Linked DNA regions of Homo sapiens: all the other regions are linked to region 1. Evidence: promoter capture Hi-C in 16 types of primary human blood cells and fetal thymus (Javierre and others, 2016). All regions are on one chromosome and are shown on one strand. The core of a region is centred on a gene start or on the middle of the fragment in contact, and the rest is flanking DNA. Distances in the headings are between cores, read along the strand shown.

Region 1 (2,815 bases), core at 1-2,500:
ACCTGACATGCCAGGGCTGAGCAGGTACGAAATACCTTGGCATTCCTGCCTTGTCGGAGTCTCAGGGCACCTACGAAGGAGGCAACGGGCCTATTTCCCTTTACAGGACACCTTCAGGACACGGGTTTTAACCTGCTCAGGGTCTCATCGCCTTTCCCAGCCAGGCCAGCGGCCAGAGTGACACTGTCCCCCAGGGTTTAACTTAGAGTCCATTCTACCTCTCATTTTCTCTAAAAAACCCCAACCAACCAACTAACCAAATTCTACACGCTGCATATTTTAAAAGCATTTCAAGGTTTATCCTTTAAAACGGAAGGAGGACCTGGGAGGCCGAAGCGGGTGGATCACGAGGTCAGGAGTTCGAGACCAGCCTGGCCAACATGGTGAAACCCCGTGTCTACTAAAAATACAAAAATTAGCCGGGCATGGTGGCACATACCTGTAATCCCGCCTACTCGGGAGGCTGAGGCAGGAGAATCGCTTGAAACCGGAAGGCGGAGGTTGCAGTGAGCCGAGATCGCGCACTGCTCTCCAGCTTGGGCAACAACAGCAAAACTCCGTGTCAAAAATAAAAAAAAAAAAAAAAAAAGAAGGAGGAAATATTTCTCAAGTAGCGACTGCAACTTCCATAGTCAAATTTTCATTCCAAGCTATAAATGGAGATGACTGTCCACTTTTCAGGACAAAAAGCTTCTTGCAAAAGTAGAAGAGCAAAAGCAAAATCCTCCACTAGAAAGCGCCCCCATCTCTAATCTGTAACAGTGAGAGCCTCAGGACGAGTTCCGCAGACGCTCATTTAAAGCAAACTTTTTCAATGACCTTGAGGGTGGCTGTACTTACACGCGGAGAAGCAAATCGACCGCAGCTGGAAAGGCGCTGGGTCGAGCGTGAGAGGAACACGGGTTTTACCTAAGGGAGAGTGGAAGAGAGAAGGGGGTTCCCCAAGGGCCCCGGCCCCTTCGCCTCGTTCGGGCCCCGCGGCCAAGCTCCTCGCACCGCAGCCCCGGCTGTGCAGAAGCGGAGGGGCGGAAGGTGCTCTCAGAACTTTCATTTTCCACCCTGCAGCAGTCCCGAGCCTCGGCTGGAGAACTCGGATGCTTGCGAAACGGCGAGGTCCAGCAGGGGCGGGACGGGGGCGGTGGGCGGAGGAGGATAGGGCGGGGCCGCGGCGGTGAAAGGGCCCGGGGGCGGGGGCGGGGGCGGGGCGAGGCGAGGCCGCCGCGGTCCGGGCCCCCGACGTGGGCTCCGTGCTCTGCACCCAGCTCCTTCCCGGGCGCGCACACGCGCTTCCTCTCTTGAGCTCCCGGGCGTCCGGAGGCGAAGGTCCCGGAGCGTTCACGAGAATCCGGGTCCCGGCGAGTCCGGGGTCCGCTCCTCCAGCTGCGCCCAGGGCGCACGAGCCGGCCAGCCTCGGGGAGAGGGCGCGGGGGCGCTGGGGGTTCTTACGGGAAGATGAGGAAGCCCGACAGCAAGATCGTGCTCCTGGGGGACATGAACGTGGGGAAGACGTCGCTGCTGCAGCGGTATATGGAGCGGCGCTTCCCGGACACGGTCAGCACGGTGGGCGGCGCCTTCTACCTGAAGCAGTGGCGCTCCTACAACATCTCCATCTGGGACACCGCAGGTGAGGCCGGCGCCGCATGAGCCACACCGCCCTGGGGCTCCGCCGGGGACGGGGGGCGCGGGGCTTCCAGCAGGGCACCCGGCCGCGCACAGGGTCCCGGCCTCGGACAGCAAATGCCTCCTTCTCGGGGTTTCCCACTCGTCCTCCCTTGCTGGTTGGGCTGAGCGCTGCCTCTCAGCCACTCAGTGACCTCAGGGACAACCCAAGTTGCAGAGAACCCGCTGGTCATTTGTGTACCTAAGCTGCCTTTGCTCCCGAGCCCCGCGTTCCTGCTCTGCCGCCCTGGGAACCAGAGACGCTCCTCTGTGGCTGCTTTGTTAGGTATTTTCAGTTTTCACGTACCCGTAGGAACATGATATCCTTTGAGATTCACTTGAGGGGTGAGCAGAGCTGGTGTTATTAGCCCCTTTCTAAGAAAAAGTAAAATGAGGCACAGAGTGTTCCCCCCTGTTGGGTTTAGTCAGGAGAGAGGAAATAAAACTGGAGCCTCCGGACCTCTTAGCCCGGAGCATATCTGCCTTTTACAGTTAATCTTCTGCTTGATCTTGGCTCAGATACGTCATATGGGTTTGGGTTGGAGTGACTTCCGGTGGAAGCATTTTTAAGATAGGTAATGAGTTATTTTTATTGTGTAGTATTTGTGACTTTTCAAAAGTACAACTTAGAGGATCTCAATTCAGGCTTTCTGTTTAACTTTGGAAAATAACACTGGTGATTGTAGCATTGCAATGGAATATATTTCCTTCTCCTTACAAAAGAATAAGATATTGTAAGTGAATGAAGAAACTGGAAATAGTGTGACACATTTTCAATGAGTGTGAGTTTTTAGAAGCCTGAAACTCTGAAAGTTCTGACTTCTTTTATGTTAGCATCTTAAAAAGTCATATACCCAAAGGCCCCGTCCAGAATTCTTAAATTGCCATCTTGGGTGTATCAGTATGCTGAATAAACAAGATGATAATGAATTCTCTCTTTAAAACTGAATTAACGAAGCTCACAGAGGTACTTCCAGTTCTCCCCCTCCCTTTTGCCTTCTTTGATGCTTTTTTATTATTATCCCAGTTAACATCGTGACTAATTTATTGGCAATCATCTTGTGAAAACAATGTCCCCCAGGTAAAGAGGTGCATTTCCCTGATCTTTGCTCCAACTCTGTCTTCTGCCTCAGGCTGCAGGATGAGGTTTACTGAG
Region 2 (2,815 bases), core at 179-2,678, 420 kb after region 1:
TCTGTCTAATTTTCCGACATCTAATTATGACATGTCTGTGTGTGGATTGGGTTCTTTAGCTTTGTGAGTCTGTAGATGTATGCCTTTCTCTTATGGAAAAATGTTGGTGTTTGGGGGTCTTTGCAGGCCAATGACTGGGTCAGGTTCCAGGCTGCAAGCTTCAATTCACCTTCTATAGGTAGAACTGTTTTTGCGGTACTATTCAGATCTGTCCTGCATGCGTGCCCACCAACGGCCTGTCTGGGTGTGGGCAGTGTGGGCAGTTTTCAGTTTGGTAGCTGTTTAGAGTCAGATCCATGCACGCGCACATCAAAGATGAGTCCAGGAGTCCATGAACAATTTTACTGGATCTCCTTCCCTCATTCCACCGTCCCACTGAACTCCCCATTACTTTTCAGAGCCTAACATTCCTCTTGTTGACTCCTTGTTTCTAAAATTGTGTCTTTACTTACTCTGCACATAATTTCTGTGGCTGCAGCCATATCTGGGCTAAACAGCAGGAGAACTGGAGAAAAAATATGGTAAAATTGTCCTGCTTTGGTGGCACATCTAAATCTGGTTTTCTTCCCCAGTCTGTCTGCTACCGTTCACTGACAGAGTCCTCTAATAGCTGCTCCATGCACTCAGCAGGAGAGACAGGCTGGGGTGGCCTGCTAAACTTTACCTGGGACTGGCACCAGCCACAATACAGAGTACTTGTTTTGATGGTTTTAAGTATGATGGTGATAAATGGAAGAGAATGAAACGGTTCAACTTTGGTCATTTAAAAAATCTTTTCACTCTCTTTTCTAAAGCTTGAACATACCATAGTCTACCAATTTAGTTAACCATCATTCATGGGCTTTTCGATTTTAATGGCTGTATGCTGGCTCTTTCCATGCACTTTTTCACTCTAGCTTACTGGACTTTAAATTACATGCATTAGCTTGTACTCATTAGGGGTACCATCGCTTTTACACCAGAATTCTTAAAGCCTAAGACTCAGTGCACCCATCCTGTATCTGAACCCAAGAGTCATTTTGTCGTCCTCATGAAACTAGACAAATCTGAGTTCAGATGCTGACTCTGCCACTTACAAACTTGTGACCTTGGGTAAGATATAAAACCTCTCAGAGATCTGCACAAATTAGGTCATTTTTACTTGTAATTCTTCCAAATCAGAATCATAGACTGAGAAGGATTTACAAAAAAAGAGAAAACCTGTTTGGCTGTATCACTTATCATCCTTTTACTCATTCTCTGCTTCCTTCCATCTGTTCCTTCCATCTACTCATCCATCCATCCATCCATCCATCATCCATCCACCATCCATCCATCCATACATACATTCATCTGTTCATCCATCCATCTATTCATCCATCTGTTCATCCATCCATCCATCCACTGATCCATCTCTTCATCATTCATATTCTGCGTGCTTATTATTTCCCAAGTACTAGGTTAGGTACAGGATAAATGGAAATCGATAATGTCGTCCTTAAGAAGTGTTGTGCAAAAAAAAAAAAATAATAATTGTGGAAGAAACCTGTAATTTGTCAGGTTAAGGAATTAAAAAGGAGTTATGCAATAGATAGGGTGAGGTTGAGGGTTGGATTACAAATGGAATAAAGGTTGCCCACATCTGAGTGTTGCCTGGAAGATTAAATGAGAAATATGCAAGACGAAGTGCACACGGCATCTCTTCCTTCATCCAGGCCCCGAGTGAGGTCCAGGGATGCAATGTCACGGCATAGCCCCTGCCTCAGGAGACTTTATACCAATGTGGATTGTTTCTGCATTCTCCTTTACACGTGTGTCTAAATCATTCTGAGGATAATTTTGTGGTCAACTTCATTTCTACCTGAATGACAAATTCCCTATATTCAATTCCCATGATGCAAAAATAGCATTTAGTTTTATTGGGCCTAAGATGATCTCTCTGCAATATTAAAAGGTGTCCCCTAGAGTAATTTTTAAGTATCTGAGGTTTTGTTAAGATCATTCTTTTCATAATTCATATCTTCTTTAACCTTTGTTATTCCAGATTTAAGAGATGTTTTCAAGTCGTGTTCTCAGAAGCTTCTGATCCTTATCCTTCTGATCATTTGAGTTATACCTGTCTGACTCTACTATGTCTCCCTGCTGCTTTGATAAAAGACAATTTCACATACTGTGGAGGTCATCAGTCAATCTAATGTTTATTAATCATCCCCTCATTTCACATGGCTTTCTCTGGACCCCTTGGGAGGAGACAAGGTAATAAATCCTATCCTCCATCCCAGGTTCATGATCATTTGGATAGACAAGGTATATATAGAGAAAATATTTAATAATTAGAGTCCTGAAGGAGGGACTTTGCAGTGAACTTCAACATCTCAAGCCTCCTTCTTCTCCCACTTCCAAACCACCCTGAATCACGCGGGAGAAGTGAAAATATCTTTTAAAGACATCAAGAGAAAAATATTTCACAAGCCTGTTCGATAACTTTCTGAAAACACTCATTGTTCAGGGTGCTGCTTAAATGATCTTTCTGCTTCTGCCGGTGGCAAGGCCCCTCCAGCTCTGAAAGCATGCAGAGGACAGCCCATTGTTCCCTTAACGCCTGAGCATCAATCACCTGGTCACCCAACACTCAGCCAGCTCTGCGCAGAATGTTTCTAAGTGATTTTGACTGCAAGACTTTTCGCCATTGGGTCCACGTGGGAACCTCTCCCTCTGGCTCTCCTTACACCTCCACATGGGTGGACACATGGCCCCGGCCTCTGGAGGGATGGAGAGGGAGGGTGCTTCTGGAGAGAGGAGATCTGATGGGGCTGGGGTCTCTCCAACCCTGCAC
Region 3 (2,815 bases), core at 94-2,593, 340 kb before region 1:
ACTGCTGATGTTCACAGTGGCTTTCCTGGGTCTGCTCACTTTTCTCTGCCTCTGTGTGTGCTTCACCTCCCCACCGCCGCCACCCCACCCCCTCTGCACTTTCTGAACCAGGAATTTCATTCTTATGAAGCTTGGTTTGCTTTACCTTTGTGTTCTTCTCCCTTTCCTCTAATAAATACTGAAAATAGATTGGGAATATTTAGTAAATATTCCCTCTAGTAAATACTGAAAAATAGATCAACTGTTGAACCTCAAGCCATCTTGTCTAAGTTGTGGTCCCACTTCAAGTTCAAAGCAGAAGATTCAAGATCGGCATTGATGATGTTGACTCGGGTTAGCATTGGGGTAGGCACAGAGGAAAGTGGGTAGCTGAGACCATATGTCAGCTATTATGTGCTATTTCTTGGCCTTGATGACCGTTTTAATGTGTGTGTGTGGTTGGTTGGTTGGCTTGTTTGTTTGGTTACTTATTCTGGGTTTATATAAAACACACGTGCTAAGATCCAGTGTAAAGTGATTTATAAATCACTGTTGAGAGCAATCACGCTGTCACTACTGGAGAGGCCCCAAGATATTTGGTCAACGACCAAATATCTTGGCCCCTCCTGGTTCGTTCTCATCCTCCATTCACGTATAGATTTCTTTGTGTTCTGCTTCAGATCTTGCTCAACATGTTTTACTTCAAAAAAGGATGAGAAGGTCTCTGATCTGTGTTAATGACATTACTTCCAAAATGTCAGAAGTTTTGTTCTAAGTATGTGTATATTTTGCTTTTTGTTGTTTCAGGATTGTGAGGGTGAAACTCCCATTCACAAGGCAGCTCGCTCTGGGAGCCTAGAATGCATCAGTGCCCTTGTGGCGAATGGGGCTCACGTCGAGTAAGTGTCTTTCGTTTATTCTTTCCAGCTAAAGATGTAGTTGAGGATGTTTTGTTTAAAGGCAGTACATAAGCAGGCAAAAGTCCTAAAACTTTGTTTTCAAAATTAGTAATGTAATTTTGCCTTTTAGAACAGTTGGTGTTAGTGAGGAAAATTGTGTGGATTAAATTGATCTCTAGAGGAGGGGGTTTAATTTCACAGCAGCCTCAATATTCTTGTCGAGAGAGTGTATTTGAACTGAAAGAACAGTTAACTAATTAGATTTGGAACTTGGCATCATTACTTTGCCACCATTACTTTGCCACTAACTAGTTGTGTCACTGTGGTCTTTAAACTTTTCTTTGCCTAATTTTGATTTCAAAACAAGAAGCTTGGATTGGATTAAAATATCTTTTCAGACCTCTCTGGCTCAGAAGGTTTCTGAAGAAAATTCACTTTTCTAGGTTTTGATTTCCACGTCTTAGCAGATGTGAGAAAGTTATGTTTTAAAGCCCATTGTAACTTAATGGTTGATAGTTCCTTGTAAAATATGACTATTTACATTAAAGACCTCAAGCTTGCTGTAAGCTTCTGGTACTGGTGGCATTATTTTTAAATATCTTTCGTTTTAGCCCAGCTTACATCAGTTAGCTTATTTATGCTTTGATAGGACAATCTTAATGTTTACGTGTAGTCTTTTAGAAATGAGATCTTATATGCAAATCATTAGCCATGGCATTATACATTTATTTTAGTTGTTACATTTATTTGTATTAACTTTTTCTTAAAAATTTATATTATAAAAATTTTTCTTCTGCAGTTCACAGCATTAACAAAATGGATGCGGTTTTCACCCTTAAATGTTGAGTGTAAGCTATAGAGCTATAATAACCAAAATAACCAATATCAGCTTTTTTGTTTTACCTTAAGTGTTATGAATAATTCATGAAAATTAATTATAAACCACATTATTCTAATCAGAAATGTGAACATTTAGACTTCGGAGGAAATAAAACCCACAAAACTAGTTTAACCCTTTGGTTTCCATTTCATTGCTTTGACTCTGTATTATATTGAAAATAGATCCTAGACAGCAAAACCATACAGGCTAATGCACGACGTGTGTAGGTACCGGAGGCTGTCAATCATCTGTGAATAGCTTAGCTTCTGTTTTGTTAAGTTTATTGGCAAGATTCGCCATTAGTTTGGGCTGTGATCCTTATATAGTGATCTGGTATTATAAACATGGCCTCTGTTTACTGTTACATTGCAGGGACTCTCGCGACTTCATGTATAGTTGTGACTAAAGGTAATGTAGAAACAATTGATAGTATGTTTTATATACTAGTAGAACATTGAGATGATTCTCAGTGGATTGCTTTAAAGCAAAGTTATTTGTGCATTTTTCTTAGCTGTAGTTAGATTTAAAACTCTAATTTTTATAACAAACTTTCATTATAAAATACGGAGTCATAACATGATTAAATTGCTTGTCATTTATTCAAACAGTGGATAATTAGAAGTTGATATTTTTAATGACTTTCTAAATAATACTCTAATTGGTCCTGAACATTTTATTACAAAGATGTTTTATTCATTTTATGGATAGCTTAATCTTTTCAGCCAATAAATATCACGATGTCCTTTTTTTTTAGTAGGTGTCTTTTAAAAAATGAGAATCTTTTATTTACAATTCTGTCCTTGGTTACAGGGCCCTCAAGTGTCTCTTTTCCACCAGGTGTGGCTGAGATGGGCTCAGGTGCCAGTCTGTTTTTCCTTCTCAGTATAAGAGCCACCACTCAAGACCCTGCATTATGGTGACTTCCCTGGACTGAGCTTTCATATTTTTTTTAGAAGAAGTATTTAGCCTGAGCTACCTAGCCAAAAACAATTATAAGCCTTTGGCCTGGAGATAGAGCACAAGTAATCATTATTCATTGCTATTGTATATGTGGTTA
Region 4 (2,815 bases), core at 219-2,718, 310 kb before region 1:
AGGTCACCTAGGGGTGTTACCAAATTCTTTTAGCTTAGTAAAAACCCTAGAGGGGGCACTCTTGACCCTGGCTCAAGTTGGCTCCCACTCTGGAGGGTACTTTTGCTACAATAAATCTGCGCTTTTTTTGCTTCTTTCGTTGTTTACTTCTTTTGTTGCTTTGTGTGTTTGGTTCCATTCTTTATTCAGCTGCACCAGGAACCTGGACAACTCGCAGTCAAGACCTTCCATTCAGTAACAGTAGTTTCTTAAAGGCTAGTTGCAATGTTGAATCAGGATCCACATCAGTGAGCTTCTTGTATCGTTCCTGTAGAGTCCATCTTTCACTTAGAATGGACCTTTAACCCATGCATAATTTTTTATGCATTACTTGGGAAATATTTTTTAATTGAGTTCTGCAAGTCTTTCAAATGTTGAAACTTTTCATTAATATTAAAACATTGATAACCAGCCAGGTGCGGTGGCTCACGCCCGTAATCCCAGCACTTTGGGAGGCCGAGGCAGGTGGATCATGAGGTCAGGAGATAGAGACCATGCTGGCTAACAAGGTGAAACCCCATCTCTACTAAAAATACAAAAAAAAAAAAATAGCTGGGTGTGGTGGCACGCACCTGTAATCCCAGCTACTTGGGAGGCTGAGGCAGGAGAATCGCTTGAACCTGGGAGGCAGAGGTTGCAGTGAGCCGAGATCACGCCACTGCATTCCAACCTGGGCAACAGAGCAAGACTCTGTCTCAAAAAAATAAAACATTGATCACCAATAATCTCATGAAAGTCAAAAGTTGGAAGTTGTCAAGCTCATGGTACTGGATACAAGTTTTACAACATCCTGATTTTTGCTGAAAAACTCAAATTTTATCATTGGACACAAATACTGTCAGTTTTCCTTGAAGTAGAAGACTCACTTGGTTAATTTTTTGGTTTTTTTAAATTGAGACGGGGTCTCACTCTGTCGCACAAGCTGGAGTGCAGTGATGCGATTTTGGCTCCTTACAGCCTTGACTTCCTGGGCTCAAGGGATCCTCCTGACTCAGCCTTGGAGGTAGCTGGGACTCCAGTCGTGCACCACCATGCCCGGCAATTTTTTTTTTTTTTGGGGGGATGGGGTCTCACTATTTTACCCAGGTTGTCTCAAACTCCTGACCTCAAGCAATCCGCCCACTTTGGCCTCCTAAAGTGCGGGGATTACAGGCTTGAGCCACTGCATTACAACCTGGTTATTTTTTTTTTAATCACATAGCTTGTCAATCATTATTTCAAATGAAAATGACGTTTCTGAAAAAGTCACTGGATACACTTATCGCACAATCAGCCAGAGCCGTGCTTTTCCTGGAGACAGCTGTACACAACAAATCCTTCATGCACACTTCCCTTTACATCACAGAGAACGTGTGCTGTCAAAATTTACTCATGTTTACAGCATTGAGGGCATTCTTAAGTGAAATTGGGTTTTTTTCTTTTTTTTGACTGCACGGCAGTGAAGAATATGAAGGTGATCAGGCCGGGGCAGTTTTTGCTAAGGTGCTAGTAGCTTTACCCACCATTTCTTTTGAACCCTCAGTGCCGAAGTCAACACTGAAAAAGGCAAATCACATCTCGGTAATGAGACCGTTTTGATTTTGGGGACCCCCTGAAATGGGGTCCTGGGGACCCTGGGGTTCTGCAGGCCACAGTGAGAGAACTGCTGGAATGTTTTGAATGATGAGATCTAAGCAACTAGTGATAAATACTGGAAAATGTAGACTGGGTATTCATTGAATTACCCTTTTTGACTTTTCCATAGGTTGGATTTTCGGGGTTTTATTAAGGAGAAGAAAACGGGAGAATAATTTGGAGACAGAACATGGGAAACATTGAAGAGTTTCCCGGAAAGGGGGAGCCAAGAAACAGGCAGCGGGTGGAAGGGAGGAGCCCTCGGGAGGGCGGGAACCGGGGGCGGGGCGCCGGCGCGGGTGCAGGGACGAACCATCAGGAGGGCGGGAACCGGGAGAGAGGCGCAGGGGCGGGGAGAGGGGGGTGAGCCGGGCGGTTCTGGCGCGGCTCTGCTTGGGGAACCGCAGCCAAGGTTGGGGCGAGGCCGTGGTTGGGATGGGCCGGGGCGGGTGAGGGGTCCCGGGGCGGTGGGAGGGTAGCGGGGGCTGCGGCAGGGCACGGCTGGAGCTGGGGGCTGGAGGTGGACACCACCCCAAGAGTCTGCACTGAGCAACGGTAACAGTGAGCCCGGGCACAGCTGCAGCCAGGGAGACCCTGAGTGTGCGAGTGTGCGTGTGAGGATGTGTATCAGTGTTTGCAAATGCATGTGAGTGAGCGAGCATGAGGATGTGTGTCCATGTATGGATGTGAGTGTGCAAATGTGTGCGAGGACTGGGAGTGTGTGAGAGCGTGTCAGTGTGGGAATGTAGGGGGAATGTGGAGGGAAGTGTGTCGTTGGCAATGTGTGAGTGTGCAAATGTGTGAGAATGTGAAGGGAAGCGTTGAGTATTGGATGTGAGTGGTAATCTGGTGTGTGTGAATGTGTGAATGTTTATGTGTGAATGTACGTGATGTGTGTGGATGTGTATGATGTGTGCGCACGTATGAATGTTGATTTGTGTGACGTGTGTGCAGATGTGTATGAATGTGTGATGCATGTGGATGTGTGTAAATGTGGCTGCTGTGCATGTGTGAATGCTATATGTGTGTGACGTTTGTGACTGTGTGTGTGCAGGTGTGACTGTTTTATATGTGTGGCTGATGTGCATGGGTGGTAGTGTATGTGAAACATGTTATATGTGTGCATGTGTGAACGTGTGTGGCTATTGTGCACGTGTGGATG

Evidence for each region. The method cuts DNA at HindIII sites, captures the fragments that hold promoters and counts their contacts. A CHiCAGO score of 5 or more calls a contact.
Region 2: a contact is called between a fragment that was not itself captured here and the fragment with the promoter of RAB20 in region 1, in 3 of 17 cell types (M2 macrophages, M0 macrophages and M1 macrophages). The highest score is 8.2, in M2 macrophages.
Region 3: a contact is called between a fragment that was not itself captured here and the fragment with the promoter of RAB20 in region 1, in 4 of 17 cell types (total CD8 T cells, activated CD4 T cells, non-activated CD4 T cells and 1 more). The highest score is 5.9, in total CD8 T cells.
Region 4: a contact is called between a fragment that was not itself captured here and the fragment with the promoter of RAB20 in region 1, in 1 of 17 cell types (non-activated CD4 T cells). The highest score is 5.0, in non-activated CD4 T cells.

Annotation. Positions count from the first base shown.
Region 1 is chr13:110,560,157-110,562,971 of GRCh38, reverse strand. It overlaps RAB20 (RAB20, member RAS oncogene family), which reads left to right and starts at 1,250. Exons shown (of 2, transcript NM_017817.3): 1 at 1,250-1,624. The coding sequence starts at 1,453. RefSeq lists silencers at 1,121-1,570, 1,462-1,651, 1,631-1,690. The HindIII fragment of the contact is 2,254 bases long and covers 693-2,815 here.
Region 2 is chr13:110,138,793-110,141,607 of GRCh38, reverse strand. No RefSeq gene overlaps it. Among named protein-coding and RNA genes, the nearest start is that of LINC03082, 11 kb to the right of the region's middle. The HindIII fragment of the contact is 1,264 bases long and covers 797-2,060 here.
Region 3 is chr13:110,904,096-110,906,910 of GRCh38, reverse strand. It overlaps ANKRD10 (ankyrin repeat domain 10), which reads left to right. Exons shown (of 6, transcript NM_017664.4): 3 at 787-878. Among named protein-coding and RNA genes, the nearest start is that of ANKRD10, 9.6 kb to the left of the region's middle. RefSeq lists an enhancer at 1-483. The HindIII fragment of the contact is 186 bases long and covers 1,251-1,436 here.
Region 4 is chr13:110,873,942-110,876,756 of GRCh38, reverse strand. No RefSeq gene overlaps it. Among named protein-coding and RNA genes, the nearest start is that of PRECSIT, 5.0 kb to the right of the region's middle. RefSeq lists a silencer at 1,869-2,088. The HindIII fragment of the contact is 4,114 bases long and covers 1-2,815 here.